Linked DNA regions of Homo sapiens: region 2 is linked to region 1. Evidence: promoter capture Hi-C in human tissues and cell types (Jung and others, 2019). All regions are on one chromosome and are shown on one strand. Each heading gives the region's core, a stretch centred on a gene start or on the middle of the fragment in contact. The rest is flanking DNA. Distances are from core to core; before and after follow the strand shown.

Region 1 (6,429 bases), core at 902-3,401:
GTTACATGATCAACTCATTTAATGTTCAGATTCAATAAATCAAGCAAATTTCTTAGACCACTGCCTGATACATGGTAGATACTCATATTAGCTATAATGATTAGTATTCCAAAAAAGGGTGGACTGAGTGAAAGAAGCGAAACACAAAGGAATACACTCTGCACTCCAAAGTTAACCTGAAAACTTTGGAACCTTGTCGGGGGAGGTAGGACATGCCTCATTATTCCCTCCTCCCTTTTGGAATTCAGGCCCAGCTGACCAGCACTAACATTAAAACAGATCTTAAGACTGACAAAGCAGACTTTGTAGCAATAAGATACCAAATTCCAGCGGGACTCTAGTATGACATCACATGACAGATAGCAAGCCCTGAAAGTGAAGTATTTTACCCCAAATTACGTTTCTTCGCCATATCTTGAAATAGTCCTGCAAAGCTAAAGCTATCTCTTGTGGGGAAAATCTACATTCTGAAGAGAATCCCCTTCCTTTTCTAGGCCTTTTTCCTGATTCAGGAGAGAATCAACTCTGATAAGAAACATTTACAATTTATTCTCTCAATAGACTGCTACCTGGAGACTTCCTCTGCCTAAGGGAAATCTTGGTCTCCTCAACCTCTTATCTTAATGCAGACATTCCCTTCTTTTTTCAGTTTTTTTTTTTTTTTTTGAGATAGTCTCGCTCTGTCGCCCAGGCTGGAGTGATCTCGGCTCACTGCAACCTCTGCCTCTCAGGTTCAAGCTATTCTCCTGCCTCGGCCTCCCGAGTAGCTGGGGTTACAGGCTCCTAGCACCACGCCTGGCTTTTTTTTTTTTTCTTTTGTATTTTTAGTAGAGGTGGCTTTTCACCTGTTAGCCAGGCTGGTCTCGAACTCCTGACCTCAGGTGATCCACCCGCCTTGGCCTCCCAAAGTGCTGGGATTACAGGCGTGAGCCACCGTGCTAAACCGCCTTCTATTAATTCTATCTGCAGCCACAAGTCCTTATATAATCCAGACATTCCCTTCTGTGGATTCCAGGTGTTTGGACAAAACTTTAAATCAATTGTTCATCAGAAAATCTTTGAATCTTAACTATGACCTGGAAACCACTCCCCCTCCCCCAGTAGTCTCACCTCTCCAGATGGAACCAATGTATGTCTTGTATGTACTGATTGACATCTTATGTCTCTCCAGAAGCACACATTCTCAGGATTTCCCAAGAGCTGTATCAGAGGCCATTGGTCACTCATATTTGCCTCAGTATAAATCTCTACAAATATTTTAGCGTTTGACTCTTTTCAGCACAGGTAGAAAAATTAAATATTGTTTCTTTTTTACATACTTAGTTTCACCCCAAAGCTCATTAGATTCCCTAACACTATGTAGGTTCTATTTATTCTGAAGAAGGAGCTTGACCTGACTCACATTATTTACTAGCTGAAAGGCACATTTACCTGCGTTGAACTCGGGATCGTCTTCCAGGGCGACGACAGCTCCCTCTACGGCATCCACGGCGCTCCCGCCCTCCCGGAGGATGCCGTAGCCCACGGTGGCGGCTCTGACCATGCCCTGGTGCACTCGCTCCTTCCGATCCTTGGAGATGGGACCGGCTCCGCCGCCGTGGACCACTACGATGGGATTCATGTCGGCGGATCCTAGGCAGCAGGAAGGCGAAAGCGTCGTCCAAAGCCAGCCCAAGGAAGCCGCGCGGGTACAAGGTCCTCGGGAGACCCTGTGGGGACAATGCCCAGTCTCTGTTCTGAACGGCTGGGTTCGCAGCTGGGGGTGGGTAGGGGCGGCTCGGTCGAGCTTGGTACGAAAAGCCCAGGGGCCCGGCGCCCTCCCGCGTTCCTCTCCGCCCCCGGCCCGGACCTGCTGGGGGTCTCAGTTTCCCCGGGGACGTTAACCCGCGCCCACCGCCGCCCGCCTCCAAGCCCCGGCGCCGAAGGAGGATGTCTATTTCGCCTTCGGGAAAATGTCTATTTTCGTTTATTTCATTCGCCCTCCCGCGTCTCGGGCGGCTGCTCCGGGAGGGCCGCCGACTTACCCAGGGCACCGCAGGACGCGGACGCCGAGACCTCAAGCTGGGTCGAGCCAGCCCCGCAGCCGCCCGGTACCGCCGCTCCCCGACGCCGGCTCGAAACCGCTCAGCCCGCAACCGCTCTGGTCACAACGGTTCTGCGCCTGCGCACGAGGGCGGGACCGCCGCACGGCCCAGTTCCCATAAAGCCCCGAAGGCCGGCTGGCGCGCACCTGTCTCACTCCTCTCAAGAGTCTACGCTCTTGGCCGGCCCGAGCTTCCTGGTGGCACGCGGGGAACCTCCTGCTCCTGACCAGGCTAGGGGCTGGGTGGTTGGGTTGGTGGCGAGAAGCGTGAAGTGGCATGCCACGATTTTGTAATTGCAGATTGAAAAGCAACGCTAGGCTGTGCGCAGTGGCTCATGCCTTGTAATCCCAGCACTTTGAGAGGCCGAGGCGGACGGATCACCTGAGGTCGGGAGTTCGAGACCAGCCTGACCAACACGGAGAAACCCTGTCCCTACTAAAAACACAAAATTAGCTGGGCGTGGTGGCGCATGCCTGTAATCCCAGCTACTCTGGAGGCTAAGGCACGAGAATCGTTTGAACCTGGGAGGCGGAGGTTGCGGTGAGTGGAAATCGCGCCATTGCACTCCAGCCTGGGCAACAAGAGTGAAACTCCGAATCAAAAGAAAAAAAAATTATACTGGGACAATGGGCATAAACAGGGACAGATCCAGGCAAACTGTGATTGATCTCCTGTGGATAGGAGAGTCCTTTCCCTTCTTGTTTACCCACAACTGATAACATATTTTACCACTCTTGGGAATTCCCTTTACTCCTGTTTTACCTTCGTTTCCTGCCTTAAGGCCCAGTTTAAATGAACCCCTCCTGCAAAGCCTTCTCCCTGGCACCCCACTAAGGATCAGTCATTCCCTTTCTAGTGACCTATTGTTAGAGATTACCACAAATTTATTGGCTTCAAACAACACACATTATCTTACAGTTCTGGTGGTCAGAAATTCAAACTGGGTCTGCAGGGTTGAGTTCCTTCGGGAAGCTCCAGAAGAGAATCTGTCTTTTCTTGCTTCTACAAGCTGCCTGTATCCTTGGCTCATGGCCTCATCCTCCATTGCCAAAGCCAACAGCCTAGCATCTTTAACTCTCTCTCCCTCTGGCCTGTTTCTGCTGCTACGTCACTTCTCTCTCTGTCACCATCATCACGATTTTCTTTTCTGACTCTGACTCTCCTGCCTCCTTCTTAAAGGAAGTCCCTTGGGATGACATTGGGCCCACCCAGATAACCCAGGATAATCTCCCTTTCTTACAATTTCTATTCTCATCTGCAAAGTCCCTTTTGCCATGTGAGGAGTGTTCACAGGTGGAGATTCGGATGTGACACCTTTGAGGGCCGTTATTCTGTCTCCCACACTCACCTCTTGGAAGAGGGTTATTTTAGCACGTCTCAACTGGTCGTGAGCCTAGTTGTGTCATCATAATACAGCTCACCATCATTTGGTTTCAGCTATTTATAGGAACCTGAACCCTACCCTATGCCTAGCCCTAACTCAAACCCCATCTCTACTGTTTTTCCTGATTGATCTGGAATTCAGTGATCTGGCTGAGGCTGGGGAAGGTGGCTGGTGGCCCAAGCAGGTAGAATGTTGGTTTCCATTTGATCCTCCCATCTCAGCCTCATGCGTTTATCTACTTCTCTGATGGGCTTCGTATTCCCCATCCCAATCCAAAGTCTCTTAGATAAATTCTCTAGAAAATAAACTTCTGGTCTTTGAGGAGGAAAGAGGAAGCATCTTTTTGTCCGGCTCTGTGGGATAGGAGAAGGAATCTGGCTAACTCCTCTGTAGACGATGTTCCATCAACAATCATTTTATGGATTAAGGATTGTATTCAACTGTCCCTGACGAAACGTGACCACAGTGGTTTAACCAGATAACTGTTGATTTGAAAACAACAATAACAACAACAACAACAACAACAACAACAAGACATCTAGTGGTTGCTGCCCAGGCTGGTGCAGCAGCTCCAAGGTGACACAGATGTCCCATCTCCTTCTCTTCCCTTCAGCATGTGGCTTTCACATTTATGGTGCTCCTAGGCACCTTGATCACTATTGGGGCAGAAGGAATGGGGAAGGGCAAAGGGAAGAAGGCTTTTGCCAGCTCCCCTTTGTTCCTTTAATTCAGGAAAGCTCTCTAGCTTTCCTAGAAGTCCTCCAAGTGGACTTTTATTGGCCAGAACTGGATTGGGGGGCTGCCCCTAGTGGCAAGAGAGTCTGAGTTTTTATTTTAGCAGGGTACATCATGGCCCTGGATAAAATCAAGGTCTCTTGGCAAGAAGGAAGGGTGACAGGCTATTGGAGAGACAACTGGGAACACCTGCCACTCCTGCCTCCCCATCTTTGAGATTCCTGTGTGTCTAAGCCCTGAGTCTCTCAAGCGTTCTCCAGAACAAATGGATTCACCTCTCAAGTAGATTACAACTTCCTTTAATCTGCCATTTGTTATTCATCTTCCAAAGTGACCTTTTTTACCTGCCATTGTCATCTCTCCCATTCTTCCTGTCTTTGTGGGTAGTATTCTTTTTAAGATTGTTTACTATCATTTTAGAGGGATTTTTGAAGGGAGGAGTAACCCATTTGTGTGACTGGGGAGGTTGACTAGAGCCCCAAGGAAGTGATTCTAACTACAGTGGCTCTGGATGTTCTAGGAGGAGGAGGGTTGGGTTAGGGAATGCCAGAGTTGGGGAGAGGAGGTGGGACCAGAAAAGGAGGGACTGGGCAGGGACTGGGCATTTCTGGGTCAGAAATGAAGGAGGCATATTAGAGAGATTGACGAAGAAGAAATGGGGGTGGGAGGGAGGAAGAGAAGAAAAAAAGAAAGAAGCAACTAACATTTCCTTCCTTTCCTTCCCTTCCTTCCCTTTCTTTCCTTTCTTTCTTTCTTCTTTGAGACGGAGTCTCGCTCTGTTGCCCAGGCTGGAGTATAGTGGTGCGATCTTGGCTGACTATAATCTCCATCTCCCGAGGCTCAGACATGATTCTCCTGCTTCAGCCACCCAAGTATCTGGGATTACAGGCATGCACCACCACGCCCAGCTAATTTTTGTATTTTTAGTAGGGATGGGATTTCAACATCTTGGCTACGCTGGTCTCGAACTCCTGACCTCAAGCGATTTGCCCACCTTGGCCTCCCAAAGTGCTGGGATTACAGGTGTGAGCCACTACACCTGGCCGCAACTAACATTTTCTGAAGGTCCACTGGGGAACTGGCAGGCTGCCTTTACTACGTTCTTACTGCCTAGCAACTTCCCATCCCCACCAGTCTCAGCTACATGAGGAAAAGGCTTTTGGCTGACCCCACTGGGGGCAGGATGGGAATCTGTGAGACTCCCTCCAAATTCTAGAATGTGTAACAGTATCTTGAGCCTGCCACCTTCCTATCTTGAGCTTCGCTTTCAAACAAGAAGCGGGACACATACGTTTCAACTCTGAGATCCCTGAGCTTATTTAGGAGATTTAGTACCCATGAATTTGTTCAGGAACGGGGCCTGAGGCTGTTTTTAGGAAGCCCACATCAGCATTTTGTGCAATAGCACTTCTTTCTAACTTTCTTCTCCTCTCTGACCACAGAATTGTAATTCAGTTAGTGATATGGGATGGGGGCAGGGAAGTGCTGGGTAGAGAAGGGCATGGTCCCTGGCTAGGGCTCCACCCCTGGGCCTGTGCCCATGGACCTAGGTGAGGACAGGCACTCCTGCCTTCAGGCCTAAATGTTGCATTTTCCAAGACCACTCTGGCCCACCACGCCCCCATCCTGTGCCCATAAAAACCTCGAGACCCAGCCGCGCGCGGTGGCTCAAGTCTGAAATCCCAGCACTTTGGGAGGCCGAGGCGGGTGGATCATGAGGTCAGGAGATCGAGACCATCCTGGCTACCACGGTGAAACTCTGTCTCTACTAAAAAGACAAAAAATTAGCCGGGGGTGGTGGCACGTGCCTGTAATCCCAGCTATTCAAGAGGCTGAGGCAGGAGGATGCTTGAACCCGGGAGGTGGAGGTTGCAGTGAGCTGAGATCATGCCAATGCACTCCAGCCTGAATGACAGAGCGAGACTCCATCTCAAAAACAAAACAAAACAAAACAAAACAAAACAAAACAAAAAAACACCTCAAGATCTTAGGGGGCAGGCACACAAGCGGCTGGACGCCGAGAGGAGCACGTTGGTGGAAGAGCACACTGACAGGTGCCAACAGATGCCGGCAGGCCATCGAGCAGTGGAGCCATGGTGGAGTTTGGCCGGGGCAGTCGGAGGAGAGCCTGGCCACTGGGCAGCCCGGCTCGGCAGGGAAAACCACCTTTCCACTCCATCCCCCTTCTGGCCTCGCTGAGAGCTACTCCTCAGTAAAAAACCTTGC
Region 2 (6,539 bases), core at 1,786-4,285, 140 kb after region 1:
CCTGTAATCCCAGCACTTTGGGAGGCCGAGATGGGCGGATCACCTAAGGTCGGGAGTTTGAGACCAGCCTGACCAACATGGAGAAACCCCGTCTCTACTAAAAAAACCCAAAAAATTAGCTGGGCGTGGTGGTGCATGGCTGTAATCCCAACTACTTGGGAGGCTGAAGCAGGAGAATTGCTTGAACCTGGGAACCAGAGGTTACAGTGAGCTGAGATCGTGCCATTGCACTCCAGCCTGGGCGACAAGAGCGAAACTCTGTCTCAAATAATAATAATAATAATAATAATAATTGTCATCTACTATTTTCTCCACTGTATAAAAATAACCACTATTTATGAAAGTGTGTTTTCAGTATTGTGTTCCCTTACTTGAAACCCTTGAGAACAAGTGCCTTCTGGTCATGCAGGGTTGTTGAACAGATGATAGTGTCACATTTCAGTTTTAGGGGGCTCACTTTGGCGTGAATGAGGAGGATGTATTACAGGAAGCGTTCTCGGAGGCTGCAAGACAATTTAGGGACTTAGTCTGAGCTGGGAAGGATGTGGACTGGGCTGTGATGTGACGTCTGATGGGAATGGAGCGACTCTTAGAGGTGATGCTGTGGCCATGGAGGGAATAGAATGTAGAGCACTGTTAGGGCGCAGGAGGGAGGGGAGCTGTGGTTGGCTGATTCTTGCCCCCATTCCCCCAAAGATATCTACTTCCTAATCCCTGGAATCTGTGAATGTTCCGTTACATGATCCAAAAACAGCACTTTGCAGATGTGATGAAGGTAAGGGTCATAAGATGGGAAGATTGTTTTGAATATTCTGGTGGTGCCTAAACTCAAACCCTATATTTTGTAATTATAAGTCGCAGCGGGGAGCGTTAACCTGGAAGAAAAAGGAGATGAGAATGTATCATGGAGGCAGAGGTTGGAGTAATGTGGCCACAGGACCAGGACGGTCAGCAGCCCAGAAGCCAGAAGCAGCCCTTAGTGAACTCTCCCTGAGAGCCCCCAGCGCAAGTGGAGCCCTCCTGCCTCCAACCTCCTGAGCGTGATACTAATGTTGGGCTTCTGACCCCCAGACATGCAAGAGAATCAGTTGGTGTTTTGTTTTTTGAAGGGGTGGGTTGCCCCTCCACACCTGTGGGTGTTTCTCGTAAGGTGGAACGAGACACTTAGGAAAGAAAAAGACAAAGAGACAAAGTATAGAGAAAGAAATAAGGGGACCCGGGGAACCAGCGTTCAGCATATGGAGGATCCCGCCAGCCTCTGAGTTCCCTTAGTATTTATTGATCATTCGTGGGTGTTTCTCTGAGAGGGGGATGTGTCAGGGTCACAAGACAATAGTGGGGAGAGGTTCAGCAGACAAACACGTGAACAAAGGTCTTTGCATCATAGACAAGGTAAAGGATTAAGTGCTGTGCTTTTAGATATGCATACACATAAACATCTCAATGCTTTACAAAGCAGTATTGCTGCCCGCATGTCCCACCTCCAGCCCTAAGGCAGTTTTGCCCTATCTCAGTAGATAGAACGTACAATCAGGTTTTATACCGAGACATTCCATTGCCCAGGGACGGGCAGGAAACAGATGCCTTCCTCTTGTCTCAACTGTAAGAGGCATGCCTTCCTCTTATACTAATCCTCCTCAGCACAGACCCTTTACGGGTGTCGGGCTGGGGGATGGTCAGGTCTTTCCCTTCCCACGAGGCCGTATTTCAGACTATCACATGGGGAGAAACCTTGGACAATACCTGGCTTTCCTAGGCAGAGGTCCCTGCGGCCTTCCGCAGTTTTTGTGTCCCTGGGTACTTGAGATTAGGGAGTGGTGATGACTCTTAAGGAGCATGCTGCCTTCAAGCATCTGTTTAACAAAGCACATCTTGCACTGCCCTTAATCCATTTAACTCTTGAGTTGACACAGCACATGTTTCAGAGAGCACGGGGTTGGGGGTAAGGTTATAGATTAACAGAATCTCAAGGCAGAAGAATTTTTCTTAGTACAGAACAAAATGGAGTCTCCTATGTCTACTTCTTTCTACACAGACACAGTAACAATCTGATCTCTCTTGCTTTTCCCCACAGTTTTTGTTTTGTTTTGTTTTCTTGAGACGGAGTCTCACTCTGTCGCCAGGCTGGAGTGCCGTGGCACGATCTCGGCTCACTGCAACCTCCGCCTCCCAGGTGCAAGTAATTCTCCTGCCTCAGCCTCCTGAGTAGCTGGGACCACAGTTTTGCGCCTCTATGCCCAGCTAATTTTTGTATTTTTAGTAGAGACGGGGTTTCACCATGTTGGCCAGGATGGCCTCGATCTCTTGACCTTGTGATCTGCCTGCCTTGCACTCCCAAAGTGCTGGGATTACAGGTGTGAGCCACCCCACCCAGCCGAATCAGTTGTTTTAAGTCACCAAGCTTGTGGAGGTTTTTTGCAGCAGACACAGAACACCAAGCCAGGAACCTGTGGCGTCTCCCTGTGTCCTGGTCAGGGGACTTGCTGGGTGGGTGCCTTAGCCTGGATGGGCTCATGGAAGGGAGAGCAGGTTGAGGGCGGACCCTGTGTTCAGTTTTACATCCTGCTCCTGAAATGAGTGTGGAATGTGCGCTTGGAGCTGTCCAATTGGCAGGGGGTGCTGGTCTCTGGAGCTCTTGGGGTGGCTTGAGGGAGGGAAGGAAGCATTCACCTCAGGTGCTGGTGAGTGATGCAGACGCTGAGGAGTCCTCTGAGTGTGGGGAGTGAACAAATGTGAAATCCAGGTTGAAACCTGGAGATGTCCTCAAATTATGGTAAATGGAAAAGAAAGTATACTGGACATGAGAGGGGAGATAAACCACAGTGCAGAGGTGGCACCAAGCAGGCTGACTGTGGGTCTGAGGGGACATCCACTAGGGTCCCTGCTAGGTGGGAACCCTGGGCCTGGACAATCAGGCAGGCTTGGGGTTCCCTCAGTACAAGACCAGCAGGAACATTGTAATTCCTGTGTCCTCATTACCATGGTTTTCATTTACGGCTGCAGGATGGAAAATCTGTAAGGAATGCAGGATGATTCCTACCAAATATTTCCTTCTGGGATGCCTGGACTCAGGCCCCATTGATAACGGGATGCTGGTTCTCTGGAGTTGATTGTCAGCCAAAGGCCACTCCCCTATGGAAACCACTCTCAACTCAAGGCCCAAGACTGCAGGATAACACGACCAGTGGAGAAGTTCAGGGCAAGTGATTTATTAGAGCAAGACGTTGAAACCTTTACATTCTGCAGTGAAGATCAGGGTATCATTGAAAGATGGTGGAAACTAGCATTAAAAACTTTTTACATCTCAGCGATCACATTTCTCTGCTATTTTTCCCTGAAATAGAAAAGGAAAGAAAGGAAGGTGAGGTCGGTCATGCAGCTCCTGGAGACAACAGGTTAACATCCAAGTGGCCGATGGAATTCTGCTCCCAAAGACAATTGAAGGGTAGAGGCAGGAACCCAGTGTGTGTGGGAAACCAGGGCCTAGACCTAGACCAGCCTTTCCTTGCCAGGCCAATAGCCCTGGGGGGACACAAGCATAAGGCCCAGGGTCCTCATAGAGGGGGGACAGAGCAGAGCAGCAAGAGGTTATTGTCTGGGCTGTCCCAGGACTTGGAGTCTCCTGTTCCCCGCAATGAAAGACCCAGTGCTGAGAGGTTGGTCAGGGCTGGGAGGGCCTCTGGGAAGCTTGGCTTCCAGGAGACTCCAGCCTCCCCATGTGGGAATTCTGCCTCAGGGCCTGAGCACCTCAATCCTGAGCCTGCAGCTTCCATGAGCATTTGCAGCTAAACCTCAGGACAGCAACCCAGAGGCAGCCAGGCTGAGAGGCCCCTGGAAAACCTCTGATTTCTTGAGAAAGACAGAGTGAGAACATCCCGCTTCCATGGCACTGCAGGAGGTAGAGTAGCGAGGGTCTTGGCCCACTGGCCGTGGTCAGGAGAGCATCGTGGGTGAGGAGGGGAGCGTGGAGTCTGAGGAGCTGGGAGGGGCTCCTTCCTGGTTCTGCAGAAGCTGCAGAGAAGTCCAGCCCTCCAGCGCAGCATCTGCAGGAGCCCCTGCTCTAGGTCCCTCCCTGCCTTCTTCTCCCTGTTCAAGGCTCCCACACTCCCCAGTACATTCCACAGTGACTGTGTGAGGTCCACTTGGCCTCAGGAAAGTCCCCAGGTGGAGAGACAGTTGTGCTTGGCCCTTCACCACCCCTGCCTGGACCCAGGCTCACTCCCCATGTCCTCAGCACACTCTGGGGACACGGCATCCAGGTAGGTGACCTGAGAAGGAGGAACATGCAGGAGGCTGTGTGCAGCTGAGTTGAATTCTGCAGGTGAAATGGTAGCACCCACCCTGTGGTCCCAGGTGACCTTCTCAAGCGGTGACCAGTAAGGCAGGTGCCCCACCACCTGTGTCCCTCACAGAGCAGCAAGCAAGCTGACCTCACTTCACACTGTGCCGCTGACCAGAAGCCTGGACACATGAAAGAGACAGAAATTACCAATGTTTTTGTAATTAGCACTCTTTTCTCATAGGCCATCGTATCCACGCATTTCTTCACTTCCATCTTGGCTGCAACAGCTTCCAGAGGTGCCTTAAATTTGGCAAGTTGGAACTTGAACACAGGTTTTCCAGCTAATAAGAAGCCTGTGATTTCAGAACCAAGAGCTTGGCAGACCACTGCATTTGCTGGAGCAAAAGAATAAAAATATAATTTGTGTAAGGAAATCAGTGTTTCTCCCATGCCTCCCTGATGTCAGACCAGACAGGAACCCCAGGGTTTTAGGCTTCTATTCAATAACTATGCCAATGACAATGTCAGACCCAGGAGGTTGTGACTTCCTTGAGGTCACACAGCAAAGGGTAGAGCTAGAACTGGAGAACCAACTTCCTGATCACTCATTCAGTCTTTGTTTTTTTTTTAAAGCACACTCATTACTTTCCAAAGCTTCTCTGGATGGATGGCCAACGTTCTCTTTTCTAGATTTGAAAATAATCACTTTTCTATGCCAGTTAAGTGACACTTTATTAGTCTTGGACATTGGTGAAGAGGAGGCTTTGAGTAATCAAATTTTGAAGTGGAATGGTAGAGTCAGAATCCTATCAGAAATTAGAGAAATGAGTAAATCTGGAACAGAAGAAGTTAAAATTATTGAAATGTTGAAGGTGATGTTTTGAGAACAAGTTGTAGAATTTAGGCTTATGTGATTCAATACAGACAGAGCTAAAAGGTAAACAAATTAAAACAAAATAAAATAATGTGAATCAGTTTTAACACACATTAGAAGCTTATACAGGAAATTGTACTTGGCCCATATTCTGCAGCAGCATCTAGAATATTTGGAGAGGATGAGAGGAGGGAACTGAGGCTCATTCCTGCTCCCACTGGGAATTTTGGAAAGACCTGGAGTAATCATTTTGCTTGGTCTGGAATCTCCATTCACCTAAGTCTTTTGCAAACACCATGCATCCAGAAAGCGCCCCACCATGCTCAACATGACCCCTGACTACCCGACTTCAAACTGTGGGGAGAATTTGGAGAGGGTAGGATCGGGGTGTCACAGGGAAACAGGGAGAGGTTCAGAAAAGAAGAGGAAAGAGAAAAATCAGAGTCTGGATCGGTCCTGACAGGGGAAAGGAAAGTACCCAAATGAACTGGGGAAAAATCAGCCAGAATTAATTTTAGAAAAATAGAAGTTCTGAGGCTAACCATTGTAGTATTTCTACCACCATTACGGTAGGACCCCTAGAAGATATATTGAGTGCTGCTTATTCTAAGAATTCATTTGCAGGCTTCTTATTGAGAGAATCAGAAAGCACCATCTCTTCTTGGACTGAGAGTTCTCCAAGGATCCTTCGAGATGTAACATTTTATGAGTCTGAATTTACAATGTAAGAAGCTGTGAGCTCAATTGGCACCTAAAGGTCTGGGGACGAGAATGTCTGACAGTACAGTGATTGGCTTCACATCCACAGCTAGACCCTTGGCACAATAATCCCACTCCATTCCCATTGCCACTCCCGGAAGAAGCTCTAAGCACCAGAGATAGGAGGAGGCGCGGGGAGGGTGAGCATCTTGCCCACGGTGAAAGGGCTGAGAAGTGGCTGAGCCCAGAGTCACCCCAGACCTCACATTACATCATCTGACACAGATCCCATCCAAGAGTGAAGCTCAGGCAGAATTCCTAACGTTCGCCTGCATTGATTTTCTGCAAAACTTCCTAGGTACTGGGGATTTGATGAAATGAGGCCCGAGCTTTATGAGCAGTTCCTTCAACAAGCACAGGATAAGGTTTGGAATTTTGGTTTGTTCCAGACCCCAACCTTAACCTTAATAGGTGACCTCGTGCTCAGAGAAGGGTGTGTCCCAAGGGCTGGTGCTGGACTCATGACTGATGTACTCACCCCGGTAGCAGCAAAGGGCCAGCGTGAGCAGCAGGAGACACACCGACAGCCTCATGGTGGCTTATTCTGCTGTGAGCTCGGCTTTAACCAATGATGAGTGATTTAGACTCAGCCCCGGGAGCCTGTGGAGCCGTGGAGCCCAGGGC

The links. Contacts are between HindIII fragments. The study calls those that stand out against the background at their distance.
Region 2: a fragment that was not itself captured here is called in contact with the fragment with the promoter of ASRGL1 in region 1 in 2 of the 25 tissues and cell types used here (H1 embryonic stem cells and lymphoblastoid cells).

Annotation. Positions count from the first base shown.
Region 1 is chr11:62,333,170-62,339,598 of GRCh38, reverse strand. It overlaps ASRGL1 (asparaginase and isoaspartyl peptidase 1), which reads right to left and starts at 2,151. Exons shown (of 7, transcript NM_001083926.2): 1 at 2,025-2,151; 2 at 1,432-1,709. The coding sequence starts at 1,621. RefSeq lists an enhancer at 1,571-2,240. The HindIII fragment of the contact is 36,513 bases long and covers 1-6,429 here.
Region 2 is chr11:62,190,194-62,196,732 of GRCh38, reverse strand. It overlaps SCGB1D1 (secretoglobin family 1D member 1), which reads right to left and starts at 6,517. Exons shown (of 3, transcript NM_006552.2): 1 at 6,394-6,517; 2 at 4,490-4,677; 3 at 3,194-3,334. The coding sequence starts at 6,448. The coding sequence ends at 3,305. RefSeq lists an enhancer at 3,963-4,463. The HindIII fragment of the contact is 4,142 bases long and covers 965-5,106 here.